Linked DNA regions of Homo sapiens: all the other regions are linked to region 3. The links are contacts of gene promoters, found by promoter capture Hi-C in human tissues and cell types (Jung and others, 2019). All regions are on one chromosome and are shown on one strand. The core of a region is centred on a gene start or on the middle of the fragment in contact, and the rest is flanking DNA. Distances in the headings are between cores, read along the strand shown. Region 1 overlaps RAB11A (RAB11A, member RAS oncogene family). Region 2 overlaps SPG21 (SPG21 abhydrolase domain containing, maspardin). Region 3 holds the start of IGDCC4 (immunoglobulin superfamily DCC subclass member 4). Region 4 overlaps LOC105370866 (a long non-coding RNA gene).

Region 1 (5,591 bases), core at 297-2,796, 450 kb after region 3:
TTTGTATTTCTAGTAGAGACGGGGTTTCTCCATGTTGGTCAGGCTGGTCTCGAACTCCTGACCTCAGGTGATCCGCCCGCCTGGGCCTCCCAAAGTGCTGGGATTACTGGTGTGAGCCACCGTGCCTGGCCAGATTTCTACTTTTTTAAAGCTCTTACAGGATATGAGTCACTTTTTCTTTTTCTTTTTTAACTTCAATGCTGATTATTTAGCCAATTTCTTATTTATACAAGTATCCTACTTTAAAGTGAAGCAAGAATGATTTTATTTCAAAATGGCTTTATTGTACAGAGATTTATTCACTGAGATGGACTGCAGCTGTTTCTACTTAGAAGGTTTACCTAGCAAATGCAATAGTTGAGGGAATTGGAGTTAGTTTGTAACTAACCAGTTCAAAATAAAGGGATATTTTGATTAATAGGGGATGGAGTGGTCTAAATAGGAATGTAATGTGGGGCGAGCAGGACAATTATTCTAAATTATGTGTTTGTTCTTGAACAGTAACCTTTATTTAAGCCCAATAGTGAGACTTTTGGTGGGAGGGAATTAGTTTTATTTTATTTAAAGTTGACTTTTTATTTTTAAAACTTTAATTCCTTAAGTATTTACGAACAATGTGGTTAAGGCCCTGTGGGACATAAGTAAGCATCAATCATGATTTCTGTTTACAAATATTGTGTGGTAGACACCAATCCACAGTTAGATTTTCTGAAAATATCTGGATACATAGTCTATTGCTTAAGACATTTTCTTTTCAATCACATTGGAGGTCAGTAGTAATTAACCATCAGCTGATTGTCAGTAGAAATTATCATAGGAACTTTGCTGTCTTGCATCTTGGTAGTAGTTTTTCTTTCACAAGTTTTGGTTGAGCAACTCAGATTCTGCTGAATCTGGAAAAACTTGTCTAGACTTGAGCCTTATTGTATGCATTATATCTATATCTATATCTATATATATATATTTTTTGAGGCAGGGTCTCCCTCTGTTGCCCAGTCTGGAGTGCCATGGCACAGTCATAGCCCACTGCAGCCTCAAATTCCTGTGCTCAAGAAATCCTCCTGCCTCAGCCTCCCAAGTAGCTGCAACTACAAATGTGCTCCACCATGCCTGGCTATTTTTTTTTTTTTAAGACTATCCCACTTACAGAAATAAAATTTTCTTTTTTGTAGAGATAGGGTCTCCCTACGTTGCCCAGGCTGGTCTCAAACTCCTGGGCTCAAGGGATCCTCCCACCTTGGCCTCTCAGAGTGCTGAGATTACAGGCATGAGCCACTGTGTCCTGCCTTGAACGCATTGTATATTAAAAACTTTTGAGGAGGTTGGACTATGAATATAGTTGAAAGAATAGAAATGTCTCCAAATTTATGAAAACTAGAATGAAAATTACCAGTTATTCTCTCACGTGGTAACTTTTAGGGTTGAGGTACTGTCTTTGATGAATTATATTTTAGTCCAGTAAATTAGTTTGCAAGAGAAAGTATAAAACTAAATGTGGTTGAAGAGGCAGAAATTTTCAATGGATAATTAATATGTATATTCTGCTTTTATGCATTTAGCAGCTTGATATTCAGTATTAGGTATTTGCGATGATACTCAAATACAGCAGATGTCTAGTTGATAACTTTTTTTTTTTTTTTTGAGATGGAGTTTCACTCTTGTTGCCCAGGCTGGAGTGCAATGGCGCGATTTCAGCTTACTGCGATTTCAGCTTACTGCAACCTCCGCCTCCCGCTTCAAGCAATTCTCCTGCTTCGGCCTCCTGAGTAGCTGGGACTACGGGCATGCGCCACCACACCTGGCTAATTTTGTGTTTTTAGTAGAGATGAGGTTTCTCCATGTTGGTCAGGCTGGTCTCAAACTCCCGACCTCAGGTGATCCACCCTCCTTGGCCTTCCAAAGTGCTGGGATTACAGGTGTGAGCCACCACGCCCGGCCTAGTTGAGATAACTTTTTAAAACATTCATGAATTTTGAGTTATTTTCAGATTAGAGTGCTTTTTTTTTGTAGTGTTAACATTAATTGGTTACATTAAGAGAAAAGTTCCCTTGCTATCTTTATGATGGTATAAGGAGTTGAGATTGGTGAGATAATGAACATAATCATTAGTTAAAAGTGGAGGTCAAAAGGGAGGAAACCAAAACTTGAAAGTGCTGGAGTTGGCCGGGCATGGTGGCTCATACCTGTAATCCCAGTACTTTGGGAGGCCAAAGCGAGTGGATCTTTTGAGCCCTGGAGTTTGAGACCCAGCCTGGGCAACATGGCAAAACCCCATCTCTACAGAAAATACAAAAAATTAGCTGAGCGTGTTGGCATGTGCCTGTAGTTCCAGCTACTAGGGAGGCTGAGGTGGGAGGATCCTCTGAGCCTGGGAGGTCTAGGCTGCAGTGGGCTCTGCTTGTGCCGTGGCACTCCAGCCTGGGCGACAGTGAGACCCTGTCTCAAAAAAAGAAAGAAAGAAAGAAAGTGCTGGAAGTTTTTTTTTTGAGACAAGTTCTGGCTCTACTCCCCCGGCTAGAGTACAGTGGTGCACAGTCCAGGCTCACCACAACCTCTGCCTCCCAGGCTCAAGCCATTTGCCCACCTCAGCCTCCTGAGTAGTTGGGACTACAGGCATGCACCACCGTGCCTGTCTAATTTTTTTGTTTGTATTTATTCATGTATTTTTTGTGTATTTTTTTGTATTTAAATTTTTTTTTTTGTATAAGTGATTCAAAGGCCATTTCCTTAGCAAACATCCAGCCTTTTGTACTAAGAGGCAACAGTGAATGTATCCTATTAATAATAGACTATTAACTGAAACTGAGATTTGACTTCATATCCAGAATGGTGGACCTTGGAAACTAGTATATCAACTAACCATCCTATAAAATTGAAAGTGCATTGCTTTTGTACATCACTTTAATAACTTTGACATTTTCTTCTGATATCAAATAAAAGCATGTATGTGTTTGCCACAGCATCTTTGACACCCTCTAGTTGACTCTCTAGTTAGAAATAACCATTCTTTGTGCTGCATTGGATTCACTGCCTCCTGAATGATTTCTTGCTGAATCAGCTGACTGAGAAAGCCAGAAAGATATGCATTTGATAATGTACTCTGTCCAAGACTGTCCAGAGGCTAGCTTATATCCACTCCTGTGGCAAGGAGGGAATGTATAATGGACTCTCTTTGCCCTCTGACCAGAATGCAGTGAGCTCTCAGTTTTTACCATTCTTTCCACTCGTACCACCATCCCAGTCTCTTTAGTAAGGAATGGTCTTACTCCTTGGCCTTATTTTTGTATGTTTGATTTTCTAGTCCTGATGTCTAAATCAATTAGCTAGTTTAGATAAGAAGAAGTCTTAGTAGTCAAAAGTAGGAACGAATGTAATGTTTCCTGAAATGCTGATACCAATTTTTACAAAGGAAAAAATATCTAGCTCAGATTCTATAAACGTGTGAACTCATTTTGAACTTTAAATTCAGATAGAAAATGTTTTAAAACAACTTAACTGCCTGTTTCTCCATTGTTTTTGAAATTCTTAAGCGTAATACCACTTTGAGTGAAAAAGAATCTCCATGTATCTAGTTAGTAAATAAACTGCTGCCTATAGAAATCACAGGAAGCAAATTCATCTAATCAAGACCTATTTTCAAAAAAATCATGGAGTCATAAGTGAAAGTATATGCCCTCCTTGCTTTGTTGTATTTTATTTTATTTATTTTTTTAAGACAGAGTCTCAGTGTGTCGCCCAGGCTGGAGTGCAGTGACACAATCTCGGCCCACTGCAACCTCTGCTTCCCGGGTTCAAGCTATTCTCATGCCTCAGGCCCACAAGTAGTTGGGATTACATGCGCCCACCACCACACCTGGCTAATTTTTGTATTTTTATAGAGATGGGGTTTTCACCATGTTGGCCAGGCTAGTCTCGAACTCTTGGCGTCAAGCAATCCGCCCACCTTGGCCTTCCAAAATGCTGGGATTACAGGTGTGAGCCACCACACCCGGCACTTGCTTTGGTTTTGACTCACAGTATGTCAGAATTATTAGTTTCCTAATACCCCCTGTTTATCTGTAGTGGCTTGGGTTTTTTTGGCAGAGGGGTCTCTAACTTTGAACCAATCTGATAAATGCAACTATTAAAGGTCATTTTAGTTTCTGTGATCTGTATGGTGATGTTTATAAACCCTATGCCTCATATGTTAAATGTTTTTCATTTTGCCTAGGTCTCAGTCCTGAGGTCACACCCAGTCTTTGATGAAACGAAGTATATTCATTTTGTCCTTCCCTACCCACTAACAGCCTTTGTTGTTTTCATTTCTGATACATTACATTTTAATATCATAAATTATTCATTTAGTTTAGGATTTATCTTTGAAGTTGTTATCTTCTAAAGTAGTAAGATTGGCATAGCATTGACGGTAATTAATGCCTGTCATCAATGCCAAGGGCATCTGTGATTAAAACTGCATGTTTAAGACAGGGTACCGTATCTGTGCTAAGCAGATGATATGTGGAAGTCATGCAGGTAGAAACAGGTTGAAAAGAATAAATCGGTTTTATTGATTGGTAACTGGTCAAGAACATGCTGTTCAACCCCCTACCCCCATTCCTTTTTAAAAGTCATATACCTTATTTTTCTTGCTTTATTTACTCTGAAGCCAAACTTCATTCTGTTGAAAGCATAGTGGTGTTCTGAATATGTTTGCCTCATTCATCTGACATTGAATTCTTTGTCTTTCCAGTTGTCCTTATTGGAGATTCTGGTGTTGGAAAGAGTAATCTCCTGTCTCGATTTACTCGAAATGAGTTTAATCTGGAAAGCAAGAGCACCATTGGAGTAGAGTTTGCAACAAGAAGCATCCAGGTTGATGGAAAAACAATAAAGGCACAGATATGGGACACAGCAGGGCAAGAGCGATATCGAGCTATAACATCAGCGTAAGTCTCATGGTTTTTAAGTTCTGTGAAATGGGTTGCCATCGAGTGAATTAGCTGACTTTTGGTATTGGAAAAAGAACTGTTGTTTTTTTCTTTTAAGAATTCTAGTATTAGGAATCCTTAGAAATTTATTTATAAGTATGTTTTTAAAACTCATGATCCATATTTTGAGTTCTTCCTGGTGTTTGCTTCCATCTTGTGGTTTTCTGATACTAAATATGTTTCTGTTTTCAGATATTATCGTGGAGCTGTAGGTGCCTTATTGGTTTATGACATTGCTAAACATCTCACATATGAAAATGTAGAGCGATGGCTGAAAGAACTGAGAGATCATGCTGATAGTAACATTGTTATCATGCTTGTGGGCAATAAGAGTGATCTACGTCATCTCAGGGCAGTTCCTACAGATGAAGCAAGAGCTTTTGCAGGTTAGTGATAGGAATTCCATGATATTTCTTACCATTGTGTCTTGTGGTTTTGATACCTTCCAATGAGAGTAATAGGTTATAATAGTTTCAGAGAGGTAAACATGAATGCTTAGCAAGAATTGTTTTGAAAGTTTGTGATGACTGTATAGCTTTTTTGCTTTGAGTCATTAAAACACTAATATTTTGCTGCCAAAAAATGAATATAAACATTGTATATTCTGTCTCTTTTTCTGTTATG
Region 2 (5,873 bases), core at 3,229-5,728, 450 kb before region 3:
TTTCTTTTTTTTGAGACGAAGTCTCACTCTATTGGCAGGCTGGAATGCAGTGGTGCGATCTCAGCTCACTGCAACCTCCACCGCCCAGATTCAAGCAATTCTCCTGCCTCAGCCTCCCGAATAGCTGGGACTACAGGTGTGTGCCACCATGCCCGGCTAATTTTTGTATTTTCAGTAGAGACGGGTTTCACCACGTTGGCCAGGATGGTCTCGATCTCTTGACCTCATGATCCACCCGCCTTGGCCTCCCAAAGTTCTGGGATTACAGGGGTGAGCCACCGCGCCCGGCCTAATTTTCTTTATTAGTAGTAGAGACAGGGTCTCCTGTATTGCCCAGACTGGTCTCGAATTCCTGGGCTCAAGCAATCCTCTTGAGTCAGCCTCCCAAAGTGCTGGGATTGCAGGAATGAGCCACTGTGCCCTGCCCAAACATATACTTTTACACCAATGTTCATAGAAGCACTATTCACAATTGCCAAAAGCTGAACACAACCCAAGTGACCACTGACGGATGAATGGATAAACAAAATGTGGTATAAACCAACATTGGTTTTATTGGTAGATATTATTCAGCTTTAAAAAGAAATAGGCTGGGCGTGGTGGCTCATGCCTGTCATAGCACTTTGGGAGGCCCAGGCAGGCAGACAGCTTGAGTCCCAGAGTTTGAGTCCAGCATGGGCAACATGGTGAAACCCCATCTCTACAAAAAATTAGCCGAACGTAGTGGTGTGAGCCTGTGGTCCAAGCTACTAAGGAGGCTGAGGAGGGAGGATTGTTTGGGCCCGGGAGGCAGAGGTTGCAGTGAGCTGAGATTGCACCACTGCACTCCAGCCTGGGGAACAGAGTGAGACCCTGTTTCCAAAAAAAAAAAAAAAAAAAGAAAGAAATGACATTCTGACACATGTATAACATTTCAAGATAAGTCTTGTGAAACATTATGCTAAGTGAAATGGCCACACAAAAGGATAAATGTTGTATGATTCTACTTATATGAGGTTCTAGAATAGGTAAATTTTTATAGACAGAAAATAAAACCGTTGATTATCAGAGGCCGGGGGAAGAAAGGGAACAGGAGTTATTGTTTAATGGGTATGCAATTTCTTCTTGGAATGATGAAAATGTTGTGAAAATGGTGATGGTTGCCGAACTGTGAATATACTTAATGCCACTGAACTATGCACTTAAAAATGGTTAAAATGGCATATTTTAAATGTACATTTTACCACAATAAAAAAATAAGCAAGCTTTTGTGGTAATTAAACTATGGAATTCTTGATTCTCTACCCTTGTTACCCTTGTGAAGCACCTTCTCTTTGCTGCCCATATATGTGCAATATATGGTGCAATATCTATTGATGAGAACAGCAAAAATACATCAAATGGGTAGACTCCCTTGTTTAAATTTATTTTGATTCATTTTTATTTTTATTTTTTTTTAATAAATACAGACAGGGTCTCACTATGTTGCCCAGGCTGGTCCTGAACTCTTGGACTCAAGCAATCCTCCTGCCTCAGCCTCCCAAAGCGCTGGGATTACAGGCATAAGCCACTGTGCTCGGCCTATTTTGATTTCAATGGTGTTATTCCTGCCAGAAAGAAATCCAAGATAAGCAATAAACAGATTATTTTGGAATTGAGAAAGCTGGAGGGTAAAAACAAAAGCCAAGGCAGCATTTGAAGAGGTACATTGAAAGTTATCAAATAGTTTTATAGGAGATCTTGACATACACATTTTAAAAAGTAAAGCAGCTATTTTACTTAAAAGGAAGCTTACATCCATAATAGTTACAGGTATGTCCCGAATTTTATGAGGTTCCACATAAGAATTTTGACAATTCAAGGTAAGTCTTGAAGCCAGTTCACTCTGACCCAAACTTTCTAGCTGCAGGAAGAAACACAGGTAAAGTTTTTGAAATAATTTTGTTTTTCACATTTACATTAAATCCACAGACAACATTTGTGCTTATAAAGGTGGTATCATCTGTGGTGGGGCCAGAAAAGTCATCAGTGAGGAACCACAACTTAGGTGAGAGACCATGAACTGGGCTTCTCAGGAGGTTGTGGCATTTTTCTATTCTGGAAACCTGGGTACAAACCAATGAAACCCGGCCTTCTACAGCCCTCAGCCTACACTGCCTACTCCAGCCAGGTGCCCATGGGCAGCAAGCCAATTCCTACTGCTCAAAGGTGACAGATATATGTTTTTGTTTTTTTTTTTTTTTTAAGATAAACCTTTAAGGGATCTTAAAAGAGATTTGAGAAATCATCTAGCCCAGCAGTTCCTAAATGCAAGCCAACAGACCTGGTTCATCAGATTTACCTGGTGGGTAGAGGAAAAGTGTGAAGTAAAAATAGATTCCCAGATCCCATGCCCAGGGATTCCAGATGGATGATCTGCTGTGAGGCCTTACAATCTGTATTTTTGAAAGCTCCCCTAAGTGATTTTGATGAATAGCTGGTGGGAAGCACTGATGTAGGCAAGCCCTTACCAGCAATAATATCTGCTCAGATGTATTACTCTGCTTAGCAAATACCTCTTACACATACTTGTGAGACAGATCTATCTTCTGGAACCAAGTAGATGTGAAAATTCCCAATACAATGTGTCCCCAACCCAATGTCATGATCCTTACCCTGTCTACCATGAAATCAATGGCATCAGCCATCATAGGGTCCACCGGGCCAGATGAAAAATTTCCAAGAACTATTTTTTTGAGCATAAATGCAGGCATCAGCCAAAAGCTGTAAAACACAAAGACCTTATAATTTAAACTTCCAAGACTACACATGGCAAATATTCATTCAACATTAAAGCTTTGTATTAGCTTGGGATCTAGAAATAAAAAGTCCTAATCCCCTCCTCCAAAGAGCTCAGCATCTAGTTTTTACACACACTTTCCCAAGCTTCCAAAGAGTTATGGCTTCATATAATTAAACTTTTATTTGAGGATTTAGGATAATTATAAGAGATATTTCAAAATACCTTTACTGAGATAGACATTCTGATGAGTCCAAGATTGTTTTTTTTCTCTAATTGGCCCTATTTCCAAGGATTAAACTATTTCTTTTGGAAAACTGAATATTAAGAGAAGTATTCTTTCCTTCTGGTTGATATTATGTTTTTATCGATTGATATTTCAAAACAGATTTCAAAATACCAATATGAAAGCTATTGCACCTCCCCAAATTTGCTACTATTAGATTCAACTTGGCTAATTCAAGGCAAATTGATATTTATAGATTTATTTTTTAAATTTATTATTGTTATTATTTTTTGAGACAGAGTCTCAGTCAGTTACCCATGCTGGAAGTACAGTGGCATGATCTCGGCTGGGTGCAACCTCTGCCTCCCGGGCTCAAGCAATTCTCATGCCTCAGCCTTTCGAGTAGCTGCGACTACAGGCACATGCCACCACGCCCGGCTAACTTCTGTATTTTTAGTAAAGATGAGCTTTTGCAATGTTGGCCAGACTGGTGGTGAACTCCTGGCCTCAAGTGATCCACCCACCTCAGCCTCCCACAGTGCTGGGATCACAGGCGTGAGCCACTCCTGGCCTCTTTTTATTTTTTAATTAAAAAATTTAAAAAAAAACTTTTAGAGACAGGGTCTCACTCTGTTGCCCAGGCTGAAGTGCAGTATTGTGATCATAGCTCACTGTAGCCTCAAACTCCTATCAAGTGATCCTTCTACCTTGGCCTCCCGAGTAGCTGGGACTACGGGCTCGTACCACCAGGCCTGACTAATTTTTTAAAAATTTACTGAGCTGGGGGAGCCGGGGCCAGGCACGGTGGCTCATGCCTGTAATCCCAGCACTTTGGGAGGCCAAGGTGGGCAGATCACGAGGTCAGGAGATTGAGACCATCCTGGCTAACACGGTGAAACCCCGTCTCCACTAAAAATACTAAAAATTAGCCGGGCTTGGTGGCGGGCGCCTGTAGTCCCAGCTACTCGGGAGGCTGAGGCAGGAGAATGGCGTGAACCCAGGAGATGGAGCTTGCAGTGAGCCAAGATCGTGCCATGGCACTCCAGCCTGGGCGACAGAGCCAGACTCCGTCTCCAAAAAAAAAAATTTACTGAGCCAGGCGCAATGGCTCATGCCTGTAATCCAGAACTTTGGGAGGCCAAGGTGGGTGATCACAAGGTCAGGAGTTCAAGACCAGCCTGGCCAAGATGGTGAAACCCCGTCTCTACTAAAAATACAAAAATTAGCCAGGGGCGGTGGCCAGCGCCTGTAATCCCAGCTACTTGGGAGGCTGAGGCAGGAGAATCACTTGAACCTGGGGGGCAGAGGCTGCAGTGAGAACGTGCCACTGCACTCCAGCCTGGGCAACAGAGCGAGACTCCCATCTCAAAAAAGAAAATTTTTTTTCTGTAGAGACAGGATCTTGCTCTGTTGCCCAGGCTGGTCTAGAACTCCTGGACTCAAGCAATGCTCTTACCTCTGCCTCCCAAAGTGCTGGGATTACAGGTGTGAGCCACTGTGACTGGTCAGATCTTTACGGATTTCTATATATGATCTTTAGTTTATATTTATTCCATTAATTTCAACTGTTAAGAGCCATCATGGAGGGCAAACACTAATTTCTGTAAACCTATGACGAAAATTACTTAGATGAGGTGCAAACTACCTTCTGATGCTTATTACCACTGGGACAGCCTTGCTGGAAGTTGAGCTTCCCTCAAAAGGACCACTAGGTCACCTTCCAGTTAACTTTCTAAGTTCTCTCCCAGCCCCATCACTTTCTTATCTTTTGAAGGTGATGAGGTCTAAGTACGCTCTGTAAGGGGTGGACCCTGTTGACTTTGCTCACTCCTGGATCCTCAGTGTGTGGCACACAGTAAGCACTCAGATATTTGACAATAAGCAGCTGATGTGCCAGAGCACAAACTGAATGGGGGCTGTCTTGGCATTCTAACAATTAGAACAGCAATAAAAATCACCAAAAATAATGAGCATTATTTAGTGCATTATCTGGACGGGAAGGATTTGTAAAGTAGCTAATGTATACAAGAAATTGTTGCATGAATGCTGAGTAATTACTAAGATAACATCAGAAAAACTAAAAAATAGCTGGGCACAGTGGCTCATGCCTGTAATCCCAGCACTTTGGGAGGCTGAGGCGGGCGGATCACGAGGTCAGGAGATCGAGACCATACTGGTGAACACGGTGAAACCCCGTCTCTACTAAAAACATAAAAAATTAGCCAGGCATGGTGGCGGGCGCCTGTAGTCCCAGCTATTCGGGAGGCTGAGGCAGGAGAATGGCGTGAACCTGGGAGGCAGAGCTTGCAGTGAGCTGAGATCGTGCCACTGCACTCCAGCCTGGGCGACAGAGCGAGACTCCATCTCAAAAACAAACAAACAAAAAAACAAACAACAACAAAAAAAACTAAAAAATATCAGAGTGCAATTTTAAGTAGATGTGAAAACGATATTTCCCTATACATTATTTGAAAACACTGATCATACAGATGTGTTTACTCACTGGGCTTTTTTTTTGAAGTAGGGTCTTGCTCTGTCACCCAGCCTGGAGTACAGAGGCACAGTTGTGGCTCACTGCAGCCTTGAACTCTTGGGCTCAAGCGATCCTCCTGCCTCAGCCTCCTGAGTAGCTAGGACTGCAGGTGCATACCATGATACCTGGCTAATTTATTATTATTGTTATTTGTAGAGATGGGGTCTCACTATGTTGCTCAGGCTGGTTTCAAACTCTTGGCCTGAAGTGATCCTCCTGTCTTGGCCTCCCAAAGTGTTGGGAGTACGGCATGAGCCATCACACCTGGCCACTGGGCTTTATTTTAAGGCTAGAGCCTCGCCTTGCCAGCAATGAAAGAAGTGCACAGTAAGCCAGCTGTATGGCATCATAGATAC
Region 3 (5,598 bases), core at 1,153-3,652:
CCCTGTAAAGCCCTTTGTGAGCTGGATCTAGCTCCCCTCTTCAGCCTCCTGTCTTGATACTCCCTGACCCCTTTCCATGCTTCCCTCACCTGCCCCCCATCCACCCCTTGTCCCTAAACTCCAGCTAGATTTAGTTTAATCCAATGATCTCAACTAAATCACCTCTGAACTTTGCACATGCTGTTCTCTGGAAAACTGTCCCCATCATCATTCTCCTTCTACAGGGCTAACTCCATGTCGAGCTCTACTACTCATCACTTTCTTCAGGAAGCTTTTGCTGACCTTCCCAGATCGGTGTAGGAGCCCCTCCTTCCTGCGTCTTCCCCAGCACTTCAGGGGACTTGTCAGTTTCCCCCTCCACCAGACTGAAAGCTTTGCACCAGGGATCAGGTCTGCCTCCTTATTTACTATATTCTAGGCACTAGGCACAAGCTAGCCTATAAAAGGTGCTCCATAAATATTTGTTGAACGAATGAATGACCTCAGTACAGATCAGGGTGGCTAGTCATGACTCGACTGGAGTGTCCCCCGGCCTGCTGAGATTTGGAGGACCAGGGCAAGCTGTTGTAGCCACTCACACTGCAACCAAGAGACGCCGCAACTCGGTCCCTCGCCTGCTTTGTGCGTTCGGGAGCAGGGAGAGGCCAGGGAAGCTGGGTCCCTCGCGGCAGGTCCTAAAGGTATTGAATAATGCGCCGGTGCGGTTCCCAGCCCTGATGCCGTTTAGCTGGGTGACCCTGAGCTCGTTCCAGGAGCCCTAGGAATAGCGGAAGGTGGGGCAGGGGAACTATTCCTTAATCCCCTGAGCTCTGGGAAGACAGACCTCTCTCTGACACTTCCCCGCCCCTTTCACCTGACAAGCCAGGGCCTCCAGCTCCTCTGGCCCAGCAGCCGAGACCCAGCCTCGCGGCGGCCTCCAGCTTAATCCGCTGTTGGGGCTGGAAAGGGGCGTGTCTTTGTAGGGACAGAAGGGGTCCGAGGAGTTCCCGGCACTTTCCCACCCGCTGTTTGGTTTTCCTGGAGATGGGCCTGGGGCTGGCCAGGCGGAGGCTCCTTCCCCCCGCCTCCCTCCCACGTGGCCTGGCTGAGTCTCTCTGGAAAGCCGCAGCAGCTGGAGAGAAATCCCCCTCCCCACCCCCACCTCCAAGTCCCTCCCCGACTCTCCCCGGACACATCCTCAGCTCCCCCCTCCGCGGGGAAGGCAAGAACTAGGCGAACAAAGCGGCCAGCCCATCCCCCTCCCAGCCCTGCCACCTACACTCCCCATGAGCCGCCCCCAAACGCACACCGGACAGGAAGCGACAGAGCTGTGGGTGGAAGCCGCAGCCCTAGACACACACCCTTGGGGACTTCGCTATCCCCTCCCCAGCCCTTTCTCCAGCTTGGACAACTCTGACTTACCCCGTACCCACTCCGCACTGGGCTGCGGACTGGATGAGGCCCTGCTGACCTCGTCCACGCTTCCCTGGTCGGTCCCTGGGGGGTGGGGCCGGGGTGACACGCGTCCCATCGTGAGAACAAGCGCTGGACATGTCCACGAAAGCAAATGGTTTCCTGCCCCCTCCCCCAGTCCACTGCTGGCCACAGGTTTTGGGGAGCAACACCTCCCTCTACCCCTCTCTAACCGGCCCCAGGGACCACACCCACTGGGCAAAGTTGAGTGTTGTTTTATCACCACCACCCCCAGTCAAACGGGATCCATCGCTCTGTCCCCCACTATGGGCAAGGACACTTCCCAAATGCCAAGGCCAAATATTAGCTCAGCCCCATAAACACAATTGCACACGCACCCGACCCAAATGGAGGTGCAGACACAACCCCAGTTCCCTCCTCTTTTACACACACTCTCAACCCAAGACACGCGCAGGCAAGGCAGAGCCCGCCCCGCGAAAGCCACCGACACCGCAGCTACCCGCCCCGCCGATGCCACGCCGCGACCATGGCACGCACTGCGGACACGACAGGAGCACTCCCAACACACACACACACACACACACACACACACACACACACGACTCCAGACTCTGCGAACCAAAGGCACACACCCACTGCGGACAAGCACGCCCCACAAACGCCCCCCGGCCGCAGCTCGCAGACCCCCGCGCAGGCATCGCGGGCACCTGGACGCGCAGCCCCCGCACTTGCTCGGGACTCCGGCTTGAGCCAGCCCCGCAGCCCGATGCAGACCAGGGCGCGGGCGCACCAGCACTCCGCAGTCGCTCCTGCCTCTCCGGGCGCCCGCCCTTACCGCGCGCGGCCAACAGGCAGAAGGTCAACGCGAGGAGCCCGCGGCCGCGGCCGGCGTCCCCCCGCGCCATGGGGCTGGGCTCGGGCCGCCGCCGCCGCCGCCGCCTCCCCGTGCTTCGGCCGCCGCCGCGGGGGGAGAGCGCGCCGGGCGTCAGTGGCCCGGGGAGGCGCGGCGCCGCGGGCGGGGGCGCGGCCTCGGGGGCCCGGGCCCGAGCTGGGGCCGGCGCGGGGGCCAGGGCCGCTGCCGCCTCACCCGCCCCTCCATCGCCATCTTGGGCGAGCGGCCCGGGAGGGGGCGCCCGGCGAGTGTGGCCACCCTGGCCCCGCCGGGGACCCTGCGCCCGCGCGCCACGGCCCTGCGCCTCGCGGGGGCTCCTCTCGGCCCGGGTCTGTGTCCCGGTGCCTCGCCCTCTCCGGGTCGCCGCGGGCCCCCGTGAGGCCGCCTGTTGCTGGGTCTGTCTCTTAGTCTCCCCGTCTCTGAGTCTTCTGGTCTCTCTGCCTCAGCGTCTCTATTTCTTCTCCCTGTTGCTGCCTCGGGGTCTCCACCTCCGTTCCAGGCTCAGGGGAGGCAGATTCAGGGCCACGGTCTTTGTCCAGATGGCCCCCTTGCCACCCGAGCCCAGTCCATTCCAGCCCAGGTCCTGGCCTGAATGCTGGTTCGCTTCTCCACACGTTGCGCCAGCCCACCTGCGGAGATCTTGATAGTCCTATCTGCCATCCCAAACCAAGGGCTTCTCTTGGCCTCCTTCCCTTGCTCTGGCAGTAACTAACACAGGCAGGACACTTTTACACTACCTTCAAGCACTACCATATTCAGATGTCGCCGCATGGGGAAACTGAGGCTGGAGAAGGTGAAGTGACTTGCCCAAGGACAGGAGGCTAGGGAGCAGCAGATACAGGACCTGAACCTTGGTTTTCTGACTTCGGAAGGTCATCTCCACTCCCTCACCCTGCCTCTGCTGTCCAGCATTTACTGAAGTACCCTTTTTCTCATTCTTCAACGGTACTTTCTCTAACCTACCTAGCCAGACTGTTTGCCTCAGTATCCCGCAAATATTTCTTGTTCTACAGCCAAGGGTTCAATTGTCAGGCTAGGGTGGGGAAAAGAGTACAGATTCAATGACCTAGTTAAGGTCCTTTCCAACTCCAAGATGCCATAGTTCTTCCCTTCCCTGTGTCTCTAAGTGTTCCTGTGACTTAGAGCCATCTTGTCTCTACACCTGTCTGTTGTCAGTTAACCCTCAATAATCACTGGCGCTTTGCATATCTAACAGGCCTGGCGTTTATTCATTCATTGCCACGCCCCATCTTCACTTGCCCTATCAGCAGCATTTGACTTAGTGAATCACTCCCTCTTCCTTGAAACACTTGCTTCCCTTAGTGATCTCATCTGGTCCTCAAGGCTTTAAAGAGCATCTTTATGCTAATGATGCCCAAATGTATACTTTCAGCCTAGACCATCTTTCCTGAACCCTGGACTTCTGTATCCAGCCATCCAGGCCCCAGTTCCTTTAGCTGTCTAGTAGACAAACTCATCCTGATCTTTTCTATCAATCTTTCTCCTCCCACAGTCTTCCTCATCTCAGTTCCTTTCCTGTTGCCCAGGTCAAAAATGTAGAGGCCAGGCTTGGTGGCTTACGCCTGTAATCCCAGCACTTTGGGAGGCCGAGGTGGGAGGATCGCTTGAGGCCAGGAGTTCAAGACCAACCTGGCCAGCATAGCGAGACCCCCATTTCTATTAAAAAAAAATGTAGAGTCATCTCCTACTCTTCATGTTCAGATGCTTCACCCTCCACTTTCTCACTGTGGCCTTGGTCCAAGACCCGTCGCCTCTCACCTGGATTGTCACAGCAAACTCCTCACTGATCTTTTTCTGTCCTTGTCCTCCTTGAGTGTTTTCTCAATACAGCAGCCAGAGTGCTCCTGTTAAAATGAGATCATGCCACTTCTCTGCTAGAAACCCACCAGCGGCTCCTATGTCAGAGCAAAAGCCAAAGTCCTTATTGTGACCCACAAGGCCTATCTGATCTGTAGGCTTGCTCTACCTCTCTGACCTCCCCTTCGACACCACCCCCTGTGCTCACCACCTCTCCAGCCACACCATCCTCCTTGCTGTAACTTGATCGCGGGCAGCCTCCTCCCCTCCAGCCTCAAGACCTTTGTCCGGCCAGTGCAAGTCTAGAGATCTGTTCCCTCATACTGGATACCATAAAGGCTTTCTCACAGCCTCACCCCCTACTCTTCCTATCCTCCTTCCCTGCTGTCTATTCTTGTCTTTAACTGTCACTTTCTTTTTTATTTTATTTTCTTTCTTTTTCTCTTCTTTTTTTTTTTTTTTTGAGACAGAGTCTTACTCTGTCCCCCAGGCTGGAGGGCAGTGGCTCACTGCAACCTCCGCCTCCTGGGTTCAAGTGATTCTTGGGTCTCAGCCTCTCAAGTAGCTAGGACTACATGCCCAGCTAACTTTTTGTACTTTTAATAGAGACGGGGTTTCATCATTTGGTCAGGCTGGTCTCGAACTCCTGACCTCAAGTGATCCACCTGCCTTGGATCCCAAAGTGTTGGGATTACAGGCGTGAGCCAGCACGCCTGGCCAACACTTGTCACTTTCTTTTTTTCTTTCTTTTTTTTTTTGAGATAGAGTCTTGCTCTGTCGCCCAGGCTGGAGTGCAGTGACACGATCTCAGCGCAGTGCAACCTCCGCCTCCTGGTTTCAAGAGATTCTCCTGCCTCAGCCTCCCGAGTAGCTGTGACTACAGGTGCCTGCCACCATGCCCGACTAATTTTTTGTATTTTTAGTAGAGACGGGGTTTCACCATGTTGGCCAAGCTAGTCTTGAACTCCTGACCTCAGGTGATCCACCTGCCTCGGCCTTCCAAAGTGCTGGGATTACAGGCATGAGCCACTGCGCCCGGCCAACACTTGTAACTTACTAATATGCTCTACATTTTACTTATTTTCGATCTGTTCCCCCACCCCTCACAATCACAATGTGTGCTTCATGAGGACAGGGATTTTTGTTTGCTAGGTTCACTGCTGAATGCTAAGCACCTAAATCAGTATCTCACACTGTGTAGGTGCCAGGGGACCTGGATAAAAAATACAAGTCCCTGCCCACAAGGATAGTAGTGTCCTAAGTGGCATGGGGTGGCAGGGAGGATGGAACAAAAGGAGGAGGGATTTACCGTGTGTGGGGTGGGGGGACATGGAGGTTGAGAAGGAAGGCTTCACAGAACTATTGATTGGACAAGTGTGATACGGTCTGTGATGGGGTACAGGGAGGAGGAGCACTCGGGCCAGACCTGTGGATGTTTGACATGGGTCTGGACAATTTAAAAGGCTAGAACTGAC
Region 4 (5,643 bases), core at 753-3,252, 430 kb after region 3:
GATGCTCACTACAACATCTTTATAGTATCAAAACATTGAGAAGATCCTAAATGTTTATCAATAATAGGTTGGTTAAATAAACTTTGGTTCATCCATATAACAGAGGTATATAAGAGTTTAAACTAGATCTGTATTTCTTACTATTGAAAGATTCAGAGAAAAAATGAGATTGCTCAACAGTGTATATTTCACTTATGTAAGAATTAAATACACATCTTCATATATTGTATATTAAAGATTCTGCAGGTTGAAGAGTCTGAAAGACTATATGCCAAAATGTTAATGCTACTTGAGGAAAGAAGGGGAAGGTATCACTTGTATTTTCAGTTGCAAGCAATAGAAAATTAGAGTCAAATGGACTAAAATAATAAGGGGAATATATTGGCCAAGTAGTCAAATGCCTAAAGGCAGAGTGGGCTTTGGTGATGGGTTGACATAGGTGTTCAACGTGTGGTTCAGCTTTTTTTCCATCTTGCCCTTTGCCTTCAAGGTAAAAGCCTCTTTTTTTTTTTTTTTTTTTTTTTTTTTTTTTTTTGAGACGGAGTTTCCCTCTTGTTGCCCAGGCTGGTGTGCAATGGTGCGATCTTGGCTCACCGCAACCTCCGCCTCCTGAGTTCAAACAATTCTGCCTCAGCCTCCTGAGTAGCTGGGATTACAGGCATGTGCCACCACGCTCAGCTAATTTTGTATTTTTAGTAGAGATGGGGTTTCTCCGTGTTGGTCAGGCTGGTCTCGAACTCCTGCGTCAGGTGATCCATCCACCTCGGCCTCCCAAAGTTGCTGGGATTACAGGAGTGAGCCACCATGCCTGGCGGTAAAAGCCTCTTAAAGACATTATATTGAGTGAAATAAGTTAGACATAAAAGTGTAAATACCCTATGATTCCCCTTAGATGAGATACCTAGGGTAATCAAACTCATAGAGACAGAAAGTAGAATGGTGGCTGCCAGGGCATTGCATAATGGGTATAGAGTTTCAGTTTTGCAAGATGAAGAGAGTTCTGGGGCCGAGCGAGGTGGCTTATGCCTGTAATCACAGCACTTTGGGAGGCTGAGGCAGGAGGATCACTTGAGGTCAGTAGTTCGAGACCAGTCTAGGCAACATGGTGAAACCCCATCTCTACTAAAAATACAAAAATTAGCTGGGGGTGGTGGCGGGTGCCTGTAGTCCCAGCTACTCGGGGGGCTGAGGCAGGAGAATCGCTGGAACCGGGGAGGTGAAGTTTGCAGTGAGCCAAGATCGTGCCACTGCACTCCAGCCTGGGCAAGAAAGCAAGACTCAGTCTCAAACAAAAAAAAAAAAAAAGAAAGAAAGAAAATAGTTCTGGGTATATTTGTTGCATAACAATGTGAATGTACACTGTACAACGTAAAAATGGTTGAGATGGTACGTTTTATGTGTATTTTATCACATTTTTAAAGAAAATTACATTGCCTAAAAAGGTATAATAAAAGCCTCATCCTAAGGCTAGCTCCCCCTGGTGGTGGGAGAGTTGCAGCACATTGAGGCGAGGCTACAGGTGTCACTAAGGTGCTGGGTGTCTCCCTTCACCCATCATGCAGCCCACCCAGGCTTCTCTCTGGTTGGACCATAATAGTATGTTTCTGGATCATGCACTCTGCTGGCATCACATTCTAGGGCTCTCTTTGGAAATTTGGGAAGAAACTTTTTTTTTTTTTTTTGAGACAGAGTTTCACTCTTGTCACCCATGCTGGAGTGCAGTGGCGCCATCTTGGCTCAATGCAACCTCTGCCTCGTCCCCCGAGTAGCTGGGATGACAGGCACGCAACACCATGCCTAGCTAGTTTTTGTATTTTTAGTGGAGACGGGGTTTCACCATGTTGGCCAGGCTAGTCTCGAACTCCTGACCTCCAGTGATCCGCCCGCCTCGGCCTCCCAAAGTGCTGGAATTGTAGGCGTGAGCACTGCACCTAGCCTTGGGGAGAAATTTTGGCTGTCACAATAATTGGTCATTTACAGAATGTGGGCCAGGGGCATTAGATTTCTGATAATGTATGGGTAAATACATTACAGAATTTTCCCACATTCCGCACAACTTTTAATGCCCTGCTCGACATTAATGTAGATTTTTAAAAACTTGTGTGTAATAATTTGAGCCTAGCCTCTCATTCCATTTTATATATAAATATAAACTATTTTTGCATGGTTTTAATATAAACAGAATATCCAGATATGAGGCTAATGAGTAAATTGACAGAAAATAGTATTTAGCTACATTTGGAACTTTACCAAAAGTTGTTCACTGTTTCAGAAAATCATGTCTTCAACAACCAACACTTGTGGTATTTGAGTCACTGATTTAGCCCTGCATATTGCAATTCACACTGCATAATGCAATTCACACTGCATATTTTAACATCTCTGAAATCAGGATGTATCCTACAATCAATGACGTCTACAAAATACACTAGTGAATATTAGTCTGCATTTGAAGCTGTTGCATTGATTTCTTGCTTGGATTCTTATAACAACCTCCCAACTGGTCTCCCTGCTTCCATCCTTCTCCTCCTACAATGTTTTCAACAGAGCAGCCAGATTTTTCCTTTTAAAATGTAGGTCAGATCATGTCACTCCTCTGCTCAAAACCTTCTCATGTTTCACCAGTTTACTCAGAGTACAAGCCTTACAGTGGCCCATGAGGCCCTTCAAGATCTGGCTTCTTTACTTCTCTGACCCATCTCCTACTTCTGCTTTTATTTATAGTACCTGCTCTAATCCACCTCCCTGGTCCGTTTACAGACCACGCACTTGCTAGACAAGCTTCTGCCTTAGGGTCTTCACATTAGCTATTCCACCTGCCTGCGTATTTTTCCCCTAGATAATCGGTGTGATTCATTCCCTCACCTCCTTTAAATCTTTGCTCAAATGTACCTTCTAGTGAGGCTGCCTTGACTACTCTATTTTGAACTGCAAGTCACTACCCACCTCTCTACTGCTCTGAACTCTTATTTCCTTTTACCCTGTTCTACTTTAAAAAAGTCATAACAGGGCCGGGCGTGGTGGCTCAGGCCTGTAATCCCAGCACTTTGGGAGGCTGAGGTGGGCGGATCACCTGAGGTCAGGAGTTCAAGACCAGCCTGGCCAACAAGGTGAAACCCCATCTCTACAAAAACACAAAAATTAGCCGGGCATGGTGGCACGCACCTGTAATCCCAGCTACACGGGAGGCTGAGGCGGGAGAATCACTTGAACTGGGGAGGTGGAGGTTCCAGTGAGCCGAGATAGCACCATTGTACACTGTACTCCAGCCTGGGTGACAGAGCAAGACTCCACCTCAAAAAAAAAAAAAAAAAAAGATCAGAACAGTTGTCATCTTCTAATGTAATACATAACTTACTTATGTATTATGTTGATTGTGGTCTATAACCACACCACCCTGCTAGAATGTTTGCTCCATGAGGCAAGGATTTCTTTTTCTTTCTTTTCTTCCTTCCTTAATTTCCTTCCTTCCTTCCTTCCTTCCTTCTTTTCTCTCTCTCTTCTCTCCCTCTTTCTCTCTCTTCTCTCCCTCTTTCTCTTTCTTTCTCTTTCTTTCTTTCTCTCTCTAACCCTCCCCCCCGCTTTCTTTTTTTGTTTTTTTTTTTGACATGGTCTCACTCTGTGGCGCAGCTGGAGTGCAGTGGTGTGAACTTGCTCATTGCAACCTTTGCCCCCAAGGCTCAAGCGATCCTCCTACCTCAGCCACCCGAGTAGCTGGGGCCACAGGGATGCACCACGATGCCCGGCTATTTTTTTGTATTTTTAGCAGGGCCAGAGTCTCGCCATGTTGCCCAGGCTGGTCTCGAACTCCTGAGCTCAAGCGATCCACCCACCTTGGCCTCTCAAAGTGCTGAGATTACAGGCATGAGCCACTGTGCCCAGTCTAAGGCAAGGATTTCTGTCTGTATCCCTAGTAAACAGTGCCCAGCACATAGTAGGTACTCAATAAACATTGTTACATAAATGGTGATTCTGTTAGGTGCAAGTATCTAATTACTTCATTATGTCTTCTATTACACTTGTGCTCAAGCATTTACTTTTTTTTTTTTTTTTTTTTTTGTAGAGACGAGGTCTTACTACCATAGCCCAGGCTGGGCTCAACTGATCCTCCTGCCTCAGCCTCCCAAAGTGCTGGGATTACAGGTGTGAGCCACCACGCCCGCCATCAAGCATTTACTTATTGAAACACATATCTTTTTATAATGCATTATTTTCTTATTTATCCTTTATACTTATAGCATTATATTGATTTTTAAAGTGTGTGCACTCACCTATGCAGCACTCAAAAGGTTCTCTAAAATGATGGTTGACATCTTTCTTCAACTCTGGTGTTTTCCTATGTAACTTTTTCTAAGTGTAATATGTACTCAACAACTAAAATAGGATGTATGATATGTACATGCCTGCATGGGCATACAAAGACACACATACACATATATAAAATAAAGAAAACACTAAAATATCAGCAAGCTTGACTCCCAACTTAAAATTATGTGTGCAGGAAGGTATATCATAAGATAAGATCTATTGATGTCAGGATGGTAAAGACAGTGTTATGAAACGTTTGTTACAATATCAGGGTTTGGATGTTAGGATTGAGAACCTCAGGGTTAGATAATTCCAGAAGCCACTCCTGGAGCTGTGGGTAGGGATAATCCCACCCAAACTGCCTGGCTGTTTTCTGGATGGAAGGGGTGGGGTGGTGCTGGGGAGGAAACCACAATGTTGGCAGCCAGGAGGAAACAAACTTCACTTTCCAAGTTTACTGTACTTCTATATTGTTTGTGTTATTTGACTATTTTACAATGACTGTTCATTCCTTTTGTAACAAGCAAGACCAGTAAAGCTTTTTTTATTTTAAAATCTCCTATAAAATATAGAAAACAGATAAACAAAATAATAAAAATCACCTGTAATCCTATTCTGCAGAAATAACCACTGCTAACATTTTATTTTTATAACCTTTTGTTTTCAGGCATGTGTGGACTTACATAGATATTTCAATGATGGCTCTGAATAATAGGAATCATGCAGTTGGAGGTGTCATTTGTTAAGATTATTCTGGCAGCCACCAGCATGTTGGATTGAAGTGGGAGAAAACTGAGGGTAGGGTTAGGTTGTAACCAAACAGTGGAGAAGGAAATCACACCAGAGTGGTGGCTATGGGAATGGAAAGAAACATACCAAGAGATATTGTAAAGAAAGGAACCATGGGCTGGGCACAGTGGCTCATGCCTGTAATCCCAGCACTTTGGGAGGCCAAGGCAGGTGGATCACAAGGTCAGGAGATCGAGACCATCCTGGCTAACACAGTGAAACCCCGTCTTTACTAAAAATACAAAAAATTAGCTGGGCGGTGTGGCACGTGCCTGTAATCCCAGCAACTCGGGAGGCTGAGGCAGGAGAATTACTTGAACCCGGGTGGCGGAGGTTGCTGTGAGCCGAGATCGTGCCACTGCACTCCAGCCTGGGTGACAGAACAAGACTCCATCTCAAAAAAAAAAAAAAAAAAAAAAAAAAGGAAAGGAACCATGTAGGTGACTTAGTGGTTAGTGTGTATGAGAGTAGTGATAATGATTTTTGGCATCTGAGTATTCCAATCTTGCATTCAAGAATATCAAAGATGAGGGAGGACTTTCTGTT

What was found. The method cuts DNA at HindIII sites, captures the fragments that hold promoters and counts their contacts. A contact is called where the count stands out against the background at its distance.
Region 1: a contact is called between a fragment that was not itself captured here and the fragment with the promoter of IGDCC4 in region 3, in 1 of the 25 tissues and cell types used here (lymphoblastoid cells).
Region 2: a contact is called between a fragment that was not itself captured here and the fragment with the promoter of IGDCC4 in region 3, in 2 of the 25 tissues and cell types used here (adrenal gland and thymus).
Region 4: a fragment that was not itself captured here is called in contact with the fragment with the promoter of IGDCC4 in region 3 in 1 of the 25 tissues and cell types used here (lymphoblastoid cells).

Annotation. Positions count from the first base shown.
Region 1 is chr15:65,872,603-65,878,193 of GRCh38, forward strand. It overlaps RAB11A (RAB11A, member RAS oncogene family), which reads left to right. Exons shown (of 5, transcript NM_004663.5): 2 at 4,730-4,925; 3 at 5,160-5,353. Among named protein-coding and RNA genes, the nearest start is that of RAB11A, 5.9 kb to the left of the region's middle. The HindIII fragment of the contact is 7,068 bases long and covers 1-5,080 here.
Region 2 is chr15:64,967,481-64,973,353 of GRCh38, forward strand. It overlaps SPG21 (SPG21 abhydrolase domain containing, maspardin), which reads right to left. Exons shown (of 9, transcript NM_016630.7): 6 at 2,634-2,742; 7 at 1,775-1,882. Among named protein-coding and RNA genes, the nearest start is that of SPG21, 19 kb to the right of the region's middle. The HindIII fragment of the contact is 8,694 bases long and covers 132-5,873 here.
Region 3 is chr15:65,420,545-65,426,142 of GRCh38, forward strand. It overlaps IGDCC4 (immunoglobulin superfamily DCC subclass member 4), which reads right to left and starts at 2,403. Exons shown (of 20, transcript NM_020962.3): 1 at 2,249-2,403. The coding sequence starts at 2,318. RefSeq lists enhancers at 1,306-1,415, 1,436-1,705, 2,681-3,215. The HindIII fragment of the contact is 12,230 bases long and covers 1-5,598 here.
Region 4 is chr15:65,855,556-65,861,198 of GRCh38, forward strand. It overlaps LOC105370866 (a long non-coding RNA gene), which reads left to right. Exons shown (of 3, transcript XR_932372.2): 3 at 4,064-4,928. Among named protein-coding and RNA genes, the nearest start is that of TRQ-CTG1-4, 11 kb to the right of the region's middle. RefSeq lists a silencer at 1,472-1,561 and enhancers at 2,443-2,532, 2,593-2,672. The HindIII fragment of the contact is 3,245 bases long and covers 381-3,625 here.